Linked DNA regions of Homo sapiens: region 2 is linked to region 1. The links are contacts of gene promoters, found by promoter capture Hi-C in human tissues and cell types (Jung and others, 2019). All regions are on one chromosome and are shown on one strand. The core of a region is centred on a gene start or on the middle of the fragment in contact, and the rest is flanking DNA. Distances in the headings are between cores, read along the strand shown.

The links. The method cuts DNA at HindIII sites, captures the fragments that hold promoters and counts their contacts. A contact is called where the count stands out against the background at its distance.
Region 2: a contact is called between a fragment that was not itself captured here and the fragment with the promoter of NLRP10 in region 1, in 1 of the 25 tissues and cell types used here (pancreas).

What each region holds. Positions count from the first base shown.
Region 1 is chr11:7,964,197-7,969,186 of GRCh38, forward strand. It overlaps NLRP10 (NLR family pyrin domain containing 10), which reads right to left and starts at 1,251. Exons shown (of 3, transcript NM_001391958.1): 1 at 1,050-1,251. The HindIII fragment of the contact is 5,237 bases long and covers 1-3,448 here.
Region 2 is chr11:8,004,234-8,009,223 of GRCh38, forward strand. No RefSeq gene overlaps it. Among named protein-coding and RNA genes, the nearest start is that of CASC23, 9.8 kb to the right of the region's middle. The HindIII fragment of the contact is 4,444 bases long and covers 359-4,802 here.

The DNA.
Region 1 (4,990 bases), core at 1-2,500:
CAGGCATGAGCTACTGTGCCCGGCCAAGTTTTAAGTTTTAAAAGTGAGACTGTCCCTGGCTGTGTGAACCTATAGAAAGCTGGAGCACATTTGCTGGAACTGCTGTGGTATGGCAAGAAGGTAAAAAAAATCTACACTCAACCCATTGGCCTCACATGTCAGCCTCCTGGCCTCAGTCACACAGGGATTGCAAAGCTAGAAGTCTCCTAATTCAAATAAGGAAACAAATCCAGATAATGATAGGAAGAGGAACCGCCACCTGTGAGTGCTGACTTTGTGCCAGGTGATTTACATATCCTTTTTGATCATCTCAGAAATCGTCTCAGGAACTGTTCCACATGAGAAATTTGGCAGTCAGAGAAAAATGGTTTTTCAGAGTTTTCCAGAGCTAGGCCACCGGGCAAAGAGGCAGGATTTAAACTGGTCTATGCCCTGGGTGGAAGAGAGAGACAGAAAAAACTCAAAAGATAAAGAAATAGAAGACAGAGTCAGGAACCAGAAAGTTAGGCTAAATGTTGCCAGAAGCTGGAGACATGTATAAATACTAAAGTAACGGGAAAGGAGAGCAGAGTTTTGAATTGTGTTTCTAATGTAGAACCAAAATGTAGGCCAGGTGGCAGTCTTTGGAAAAGAAAAGCAACAATTAATAGAAAGCCTTCAGAATCCAGAAATACACCTGTGACCTAAGGCCCATAGGGAACCCATCTCAGTAGTACAATGTCACATTCATCATTGAGAGTGTTCAAAAGAGAATTTGGGAACACAGAGAGTTGTTGCCATTCAAATACCAACATTTTGACTACATACTGACAGAGAAAGAAAATGTTTGGAACATGTTAGGATACAGGGGACTTTGGTTGTGAGTCATAGGCCAGTTTGGAAAAGCAGGCCTGTGAAAGCAGGATCAATTTACAACAAAGCTTCAGGCTGCATGGGAAGACTCAGGGCTTCCCTGCAAATTTCTGATGTTGGCAGAGCTATTTAATAATTCAGGAAAGAAAAGACAACACTAGAACCTGCCAAGAAGATGTCCAGTCTAGGCTGCTTACCACAGTTCAGACTTGGGGAGCTGGAGGTGAGGCAGCGAGAACTCAGCTCCCTGATCCAGGAGCCCAGTAAGCAAAGCCTGGGGACTGAGACGAAACAGATCCCCTTTCCTGGTCCGACAGCTCTACAGGTCCAAGTTTGGGCTCTCTTAGCCCATACTCACTAGTTCACTTCTGTTTGGTGGTGCTGGTACCTACCAGCTACAGCTTGATACCTAACAGTTCCTAGTATATAGGCCTGGAACAGAAGGGCCCCTCCCCATCTGCCCCAAGCCTCTGTGAAGCAGAACCACCCACTGAATGTCAGTGGGATGACTGTCAATGGGATGGGCAATTGCTCACCAGTGGGAAACTTGACCTCATTTTTTCAAATGTTGAAGTTGAGAAACAAGGGAGGGGTGGAAGGCATGAACTATTCTGTCACCAAGAGAAAAAGAGCCCAGGAGACTTCCCACATCCCTCCCTGGAACCCACACTCCTCCTCTACCACTTAACCCCAGCCTAGGCTGGGGCAGTTTGACTAGAGAGACGAAAGAATTGAAGCACTGCCACCACCATATCCTCCGCCAGTGCACCATTTCTCTAAGTTGTTGAAATCACTGGAGAATGAAAAAGGAAGAAGATAGGAGCTCCATGAAGTAGGAATTCAAACAAGGAGAAAAACAGGCCAGGCATGGTGGTTCACGCCTGTAATCCCAGCACTTTGGGAGGCTGAGGTGCGTGGATCATTTGATGTCAGGAGTTTGAGACCAGCCTGATCAACATGGTGAAACCCTGTCTCTACTAAAAATACGCAAATTAGCCGGGAATCATGGTGCATGCCTGTAATCTCAGCTACTAGGGAGGCTGAGGCAGGAAAATTGCTTGAACCCAGGAGGCGGAGGTTGCAGCGAGCTGAGATTGTGCCACTGCACTCCAACCTGGGCAACAAAGTAAGACTTTGTCTCAAAAAAACAAAAAAGAAAAAGGAGAAAAACAAATTCCCAGAAGGCAGCCAGTCCTCTGGCCTAGAGAGCTGAGGATCCCCAAGAGCCCTGACAGAAAGAGAACAGGTTTCTCCAAAAAGAATGTCTCCAAGAAAAAAGAAAAAAGACTTGCTAGACTAGCTGATGCTATTGGCCTTCTAAAACAGCCTATTGGGAGGCTATTAGAAGGTGGAAAAAGCTAGCAGTAACTTCCAAGAAAACCAGATAAATGAAAGTAAAATAAAGAAATTACTAGCAAGAGGAGAAACAAAAAATAAAATTGGAAATATAATAGTAAACTAATATACTCAAGTGTGAATAATGTTTGCATAGAAATCATAGTGTAACCACTGAACATTGCTCTAAAATTTAAAATATAATTACATTGAAAGGATGGTGGTGGAATGTACTAGAAGAGGAAGTTGATAGACAATGCCTAAAATGTTGAATCAAAAGATAGTGATATACAGTACACATATTACTTCAAAATGCAGAGATGTAAGAAGAAATAGTTAAAATCTAATGTATTAATAGTTGTTTTAGCGAAAAGAGACTGGGCATCAGGAGAGGAAAGGACTACTGTTCCAGGGCATAAGTTTTTTAATGCCTATTGACTTTAGAAATCATAACCATGTATTACTTTGAAAAGATAAAAATTAACTTAGCAAAGAAACAGTAAGAGGTAAAGAAATGGAGTTAACATGTATAGACAAATCTCTCTGGAAGCTTGGTAACAAAAGTGATGAGAAAGGTCCTGAGGTAATATGGGAGATGTGAAGTCCAGAGAAGGTTTTGTTTGCTTTAACATGGGAAAGGGAGGAATGTACCTGGATGCTGATACAAAGCCTCCCATAGAGAGGTCAGGTTAGAAATGCAGAAGAGAAAGGCAAGCACCAGAGGGGGGAATGGAGAATGGGGATTGGGACAGGATTCGAAGCAAAGGCAAAAGATTGGCCTTTGACAGGAGGCTGGAAGGAACAGCATCCATTCATTCCTGAGGAAAGTGACAGAGGTTGTTTGGCAGAGAAAGTCAGGTGTGTGGGTTTTGTGGTCAGAAGATAAGCATGGTCATGTCTGAGTCTCCATATGCTCTGTGAAGTACATGTAAGAGTATCTCCCATGAGTGAGAGGGCAGGGGTGGTTGAGGAGAGGAGACACCTTAAGGAGGCCACTGCAAGCCTTCCCTCCTGTGCACCTCTCCTCCTCCTCCAAGGCCTCTTGTGCCCACTGCTCAGGGAGTACCCCAGAGTCCAGGGGAACAGGCAGGAATGGGACTGGCCTTTCCCAGTGCCTTGACCAAGATGAGGCTAGCGACAAAAACAAGACTGCCAAGAACCAGGACCCAGAGACCAAGATGGGAAGATAAAAGAGTGAGACACAGTTATGTAGTGAGGGTGACAGAGAGAGCAGAAAGGCCACCTACTGCAAAGGCACCAGGTCTGGAGACCACTGTGCCAGATTCAGAATCACACCTGAAGAAAGGAGGAATGAGATGCATGGAACCAACTATAATTGGAGGGTGGAGGCAAGAGATGAAATGAGTCCTCCCTGCCTATCCACCCTGGCCTGGCTACAGGCAACACTGATAATTGCAACTAAGTCCCAAAAAGGGCAGGGGTGGAGACAAAAGAAAGAGAAACCAAGCCTGGGAATAGCAAGAGATCAAAAGAGTAAAGAGTCAGAGAAGAGATACAGAGAGATATCAGAAAAATGAGCAAACAAAATAGAAAGTCAGAGAGAGATGAAGCCAGCTGGTAGGTATGAGTCTCTCACTTTCCCATACACACATACACACATACTTACACACTCACTCTATACACAGTGTTTTTTCACAGCAAACTGTTAGAAACAAGGGCAATGAGAAAAACATGTGAAGCAATTGGAGTTTCTCAATCAAGCTGCAGTGTTCCCACATTCATTATACTCTTTCCCTACCTATGGAGGCAGATCCCAAGGCAAAGTTGAACACATGTCTTCATCCTCTTGCTTCCAGGCCTTCTTTTTGACACAGGCAGGAGCTCCAACCCCAGTCTGTCCCCTCTTATACAAGGGCCCTTTGAGACAGTCCCCTCAGGCTCCCCAAAGGTCACCATCTTCTCCTTTATACCTTGGTCAGTTTTGATGGAGTTAGCACATGGATTTGGTAAGCTTAAAGGTCTTCTTGAGACAGGAGATCCTGTGGCCATTTTGGAGGTATCTGTCTCTGCTGCTAGAAGCTGTCTTTTCTCAAGAGTATTGTCACAAGGCTTTTGTAAACCAAAAAGTATCTGAGACAGGTCTCAATCAATTTAGAAAGTTTATTTTGCCAAGGTTAAGATGTGCCTATGACACAGCCTCAGGAGGTCCTGAAGTAATGTGCCTAAGGTGGTCGGGACACAGCTTGGTTTTATACATTTTAGGGAGACATGAGACATCAATCAATATATGTAAGACGTACATTGGTTCAGTCCAGAAAAGTGGGACAAGTCAAAGCAGGGAGAGGGCTTCCAGGTCATAGGTAGATAAGACATAAACAGTTGCATTATTTTTAGTTTCTGATCAGCCTTTCACTGAATACACAATTTACAGGAACAGTCACTTATGCCTTAGTCTAGCTTAGTGAAATAATGGAGCAAGGAAGCAATCAGATATGCATTTGTATCATGTTAACAGAGGGATGACTTTGAGTTCTGCTTTTTATCCACAAGGAATTTTCCCGTGGGCAAATTGTGACGGAGGTATGTAGCTTTTTTTTTTTTTTTTTTAATCTTTGTAGCTATCTTATTTAGGAATAGAGTGGGAGGCAAGTATGCCCACAGTACCCAGTCTGACTTTTCCCTTTGGCTTAGTGATTTGGGGGAACTGAGGTTTATTTTCCTTTTGCATTTCCCCACTTTTCTTTTTAAAAAGCTTTCAAAGAAAGCATTTTAGAGGAAAATGAGTCTTTGGGCTGAGGTTTTGTCTGATCTCTCATGGCTAGGATGGTTTATTCCTAGACGG
Region 2 (4,990 bases), core at 1,331-3,830, 41 kb after region 1:
TTAATCTCAGGTGGCAATGAGTCCCTAAAGCATCTCACTGGCCCGCTGACCCCAGGTACACTAACAGCATTTGCTCCATAGGCATCATTCATTCATTTAGCATTCACTGGGCTTCTATTATTTGCCAAATATTATGTTAGCATTGAATGAAGAAATATACACTTTATGATAACTGGGGGGTAGAGGAGAAGGGGAAACAGGCAGTTTTGGAGGCTGTGTCTATCTCCAGCTGGTGGGCGGAGGGAGGGATTGAGGCCCCTTTCCTCTTAGCGGCAGCTCAGGAGGGATCCCAGGATCTGTGCTTCCATCTGGATCAGGTGAAGCACACACAGTGAGACTGTCTTTTTGCTCTCTGCAGGGGTGGGCACAGGATCCCTCTGTTCCTGTTGCTAAATTGGTCTGCTGGAGGACTGCACTATATTCTGACCACCTCTGTAAGGGACAAGGGATATGTATGACCTTACAATGACTTTGGTGTGCTCTCTATTAGGGCCAGACAGGGAGGGCAAACCAGCTCACAAAAATCTCAGTCTCCTTTTTTGAACAATGATATTTTTATTGTTATGAGTAACATTTATCTTTAAGGATTGGAAAATATAGAAAAAAGAGAAAGAAAAAAATAGAAATAATTCAAATTTGCCCTCAACGATCATTATTGTTAACATGTTGTGCCAATCCCTTTTCTCTACAAACAACTTTTTTTAAAACAGTGTTTTGAATTTTCTATTTTGGCTTTTTTTAAACTAAACATTTTAGAATGATTATTATCCAGGTCATTAAATCTTCAAAAACCTTATTTTAAATAGTTTTATAGGTTCCTGTTATACGGGTAAACTATGATTTACTTAAGTGATTTTTTAGTGTTGGGCATATGGGTTCTTTCTGATTTTGTGCTAATAGATATCTTCCATGGTCGACAACTGTGTGCAGACATAAATGTCTGAGTTTCTGCTTCTTTAGGTCAATCTCTCTTCCCTGCTGTGTGTCATACTTTGTGTCCTGGGAAGCCCATGTCGTGCTGCTCAACTTCTGGGTTTGAAGGAGACCATCAGGAAAATGCACCTGTGGCTCTGCATGCCCCCTTTCCACAGGATTCAGACACTACGGACGGAGGGCATGGGAAACTGAGAAGGGACCAGAGACAATATTATTCCACTTTTTGCCCTCCAAGGCCCATACCATAAACCTCCCCAACTCCTCCATTGCCCAAGCCAGAGCCCTCATGAAAATGAACTCAATCAAATTAACTTTTGAAGAGTAAACGAGATTCTAGGGACGTGGGAACCTGATCGCACTTCCTTTTTCCCACCCACAATCTATGGCCACTCCTGAGCCTGTGGGCTGCTTGAAGGCAAGTGAGGCCTTGACCTCTGCTGGAATCCTAAGAGAGAGAATTATTTAGAGTCTCATGGGTCAGGAGAGTCCTGGGAGGCCAGTACAGAGGGTTTCTAGCAAGGACCAGAAAGCTATAAAGCTGGGAAGAATGTGGCCCACAGAGATCTTTGGACCCATGAAGGGAAGCAAGTGTGGGGGTCTTGCTGGATTCTTGCTCTGGCAAGAAGGATTGAACAGGTAAACTGAGTCTTCCCTGCCCTGACACAGGACAGTGTAATGAGACAAGGGCTTCAGCAGGGCACTGGTGTCTTACCTGGTTCTGCCCCATCCATCCCAGATAGACTATTTCCCCTCCCAGCACCCACAGAGCTGCCAACAACAGCCAGACTCAACCCCAACAAGCTTCACTCCACTCTCCTTAGAACATCGAGGAATCAGTTCTTACTGAAAGTTTACTTGGTGCAGCCTATAACTGTGACTTCAGGTTCTGAGCATATCTGATGAAGAAATTAGCATTTTCCCCACATACTAGATATAGTCAGCATTTCCAGGAGTGTTCAAAGAGAACCCAGGTTGTTTAAGATAGAAATCTAATTGCCAGCACTGACTTGCTTCTCGTTGCAGAGTCTAGGAATCCATGCATGCTCAGTAATGCAAGTACTTGCAAGCTGACAAAATTCCATTTGTTTGTCCCCCTTATTCCCCTTATCACCAGCGAAGTCTCCCAGAAGGCAAGCAGTTGCCTATGGCGATGATCTAAGCTGTGAATTAGATGTTTGTCCCACAATAGTTTGTCTGATCCATCTTGTCTGTCAGTCCTGTGAAGGTATTTTCTGTCTCATTAGGGTCTTCCAGTACTTTGCTTAAGTTTTGTCCCATGATGATGGTCATCAATTTTATAATGGTCTCTGTCCCACAATGTTGGTCCCAACTATAACAGGCCACCAGTCTCAGGAGCATTGCTCTATGCCAGAGGCTTTCTGAGTCATGGCCACTAGAGGACACCCTTACACCACTTAAAGGCCAAAGGTTGCCAGTGGCATTCCCTTAGTTCCTGAGCTGTTTTCTGAGGGCCTGCCCAGAGAAAGCACCTTCTGCTTTGGAGAGGTCAGGATGGTGCCAAAAAAGTGACCAAAGCTTTTGGAGCTGCTTCCCTTGGCCACCTTTGAGCCACAGAGTGATGAAACCAAACCATCTTCCTCTATCCCCACCCCCAAAATCACTCCAAATAAACACATAGTATTTCTAAACTTGGTTTGATAACACAGTTTCAAGTAAATCTATGGCCCACTCCCCTTCCAATCAGATTATAATCTGCAAACCCCTCTATACAGAAATTCTGGAGCTGCTGTTGCCCAGGAGAAACCCTAGCTCAGGACCTGACAACCAAAATGAGGTTCCTGGAGCTTTCCTTCCAGGGAAAGGGTGATGCTTATAAGAGAACCTGGACTTTCCACATGGTACTAGAGTTCTGGACAGGAAAGTGAGGGACTCTTGCCAAATTCTGGAGGTTAGAGAAGTGAGAGGTACAAGATAGGATCCTGTCCAATGGTCCCAGTAAAATTGCTTTGTTGATTGGAAGTGCAAGGGATAGACAGAGGTAATGGTTAGCTGACAATGGGAGCCCCAGATTTAGATATAAAAATTCAGCTGGAGGGAGGACATAGTTTGGGTCCCCTTGCAACAGAACATGTGGCAAAGACTTGGGGAAAAATAGTTTACGTGTGAGGTGATCTGCATTTGATTCCTATGGTTACCATAATAAGTACAACAGTTCACCCTTATCCATGCGGGATACATTCCAAGACCCCCAGTGGATACCTGAAGCCATGGATGGTATCGAACTCTATATATACTGTGTTTTTTCATAAACATACATACCTATGATAAAGTTTAATTTATAAATTAGGCACAGTAAGACATTAACAACAATAACTAATATAAAACAGAACAATTATAACAATATACTGTAATAAAAGTTATGTGGATGTAGTGTCTCTCTTTCTCCCCCCCCCCCAGCCTCTCAAAATAACTGTACTGTACTGCATGTAACTGAAACTGCAGAAAGCAAAACCATGGATAAAACCATGAATAAGAGGGGGCTGTTGTATCATAAATTTGGTGGCTTAAGACAACAGAAATCTATTTTTTCAGTCTTGGAGGCTAGAAGTCTGAGATCAAGGAACGGTCTTTGATACTGCCCCCAAAGCCTTTATTTTTTTTTATTTTATCTATTTATTTTTTTGAGATGGAGTTTCACTCTTGTTGCCCAGGCTGGAGTGCAATGGCACAATCTCAGCTCACCACAACCTCTGCCTCCTGGGTTCAAGCGATTCTCCTGGCTCAGCCTCCTGAGTAGCTGGGATTACAGGCATGTGTCACCATGCCTGGCTAATTTCTTGTGTTTTTAGTAGGGATGGGGTTTCTCCATGTTGGTCAGGCTGGTCTCAAACTCCCAACCTCAGGTGATCCGCCCGCCTCAGCCTCCCAAAGTGCTGGGATTATAGGCATGAGCCACCGCGCCCAGCCAGGACTTCAACATATCTTTTAAGGGGGACAAAACTAACCCATAATATGATCTTAGAAGTAAAAGCAAATGGAGACTAGGATGGGAAGAACTTAATGCAACTGAAGGTATCAAGCTGGTTATTTCTGCAGCAACAGGGACTCAGTCCCACTGAGGAACCTCCAAGGAGCCATGTGACATACCCCTCAGAATTCTCCCACTGAGGGACTGGAAGGCTGGGGAATTTAGCCTGTTACCCCACTGGCTGAAGAATTCTCCTGGGAGGCTGGCTAACTTCCTCATATTTAGAGGCTACAACTACAGTAGGGCTGCATCCTTCCCTAGCTAATTAAGAGAGATTGAGGTGCGATGTGAGCCCTGCGTGTGGGGCTGTCCACCGCCACAGTGCTGAAATCAAGGAGGCACCCCCAGTGTTAGAGAGGGTACCCCCCTTACACTGCTCAGATCTGCTCCTCCCCCACAGCAAGTCCACACTATCACTGACTCTTTTAGAGTGTGGACTCTTTACGAGTATGCAAGCTCTTAAAAAAAGAAAAGGGACTTTCAGGAGTAGAATTAGTGGAATAAACTATAGTCGCCTGTGGCAGCTGGTCCTCAGCCACAATTAATATTCATCATCTCCCCGCTCCCCCTCCAACCCACCAATTCCAGATTTCTTTCATGCCTGGTCAACACTAAAGTTGGTCTGGGCTGCTCTTCCTGAGGGCCTGGGCCCTTGACTGTCTTGCCACTACCCTACTTTGTTGGCTGTGGTTGGCTATGCACCATTATCCCTCAGCATGAAGGCACCAAAAGACACTCCAGCGACCAAGTTTCAGATGAATCCTCCCTGCCTCATTATGCAACAGCCACTTTAGCTTCTCAGAATGGGGGTTGATTGCCAGCTCCAATATGGTAACTTTTCTTATCTGATGGTCCACTCGCAGGAGGAGCCCAAAGTGACCCAGCAATAGAGTCAATGGAAAACTTCTCATGTTAACCAGTGGAAGATTTCTTCCTGAGAATCAGGACCTCTGTTGCAATGAAGCCTGCTGCAGAAATGGGAAGCACAGTTTCTGCAAGGAGCTGGCTGGGGTGATGATGAAAGGGGCCAGTACTATTTCTACCTGTTGGTTACTCTGGCCCTGT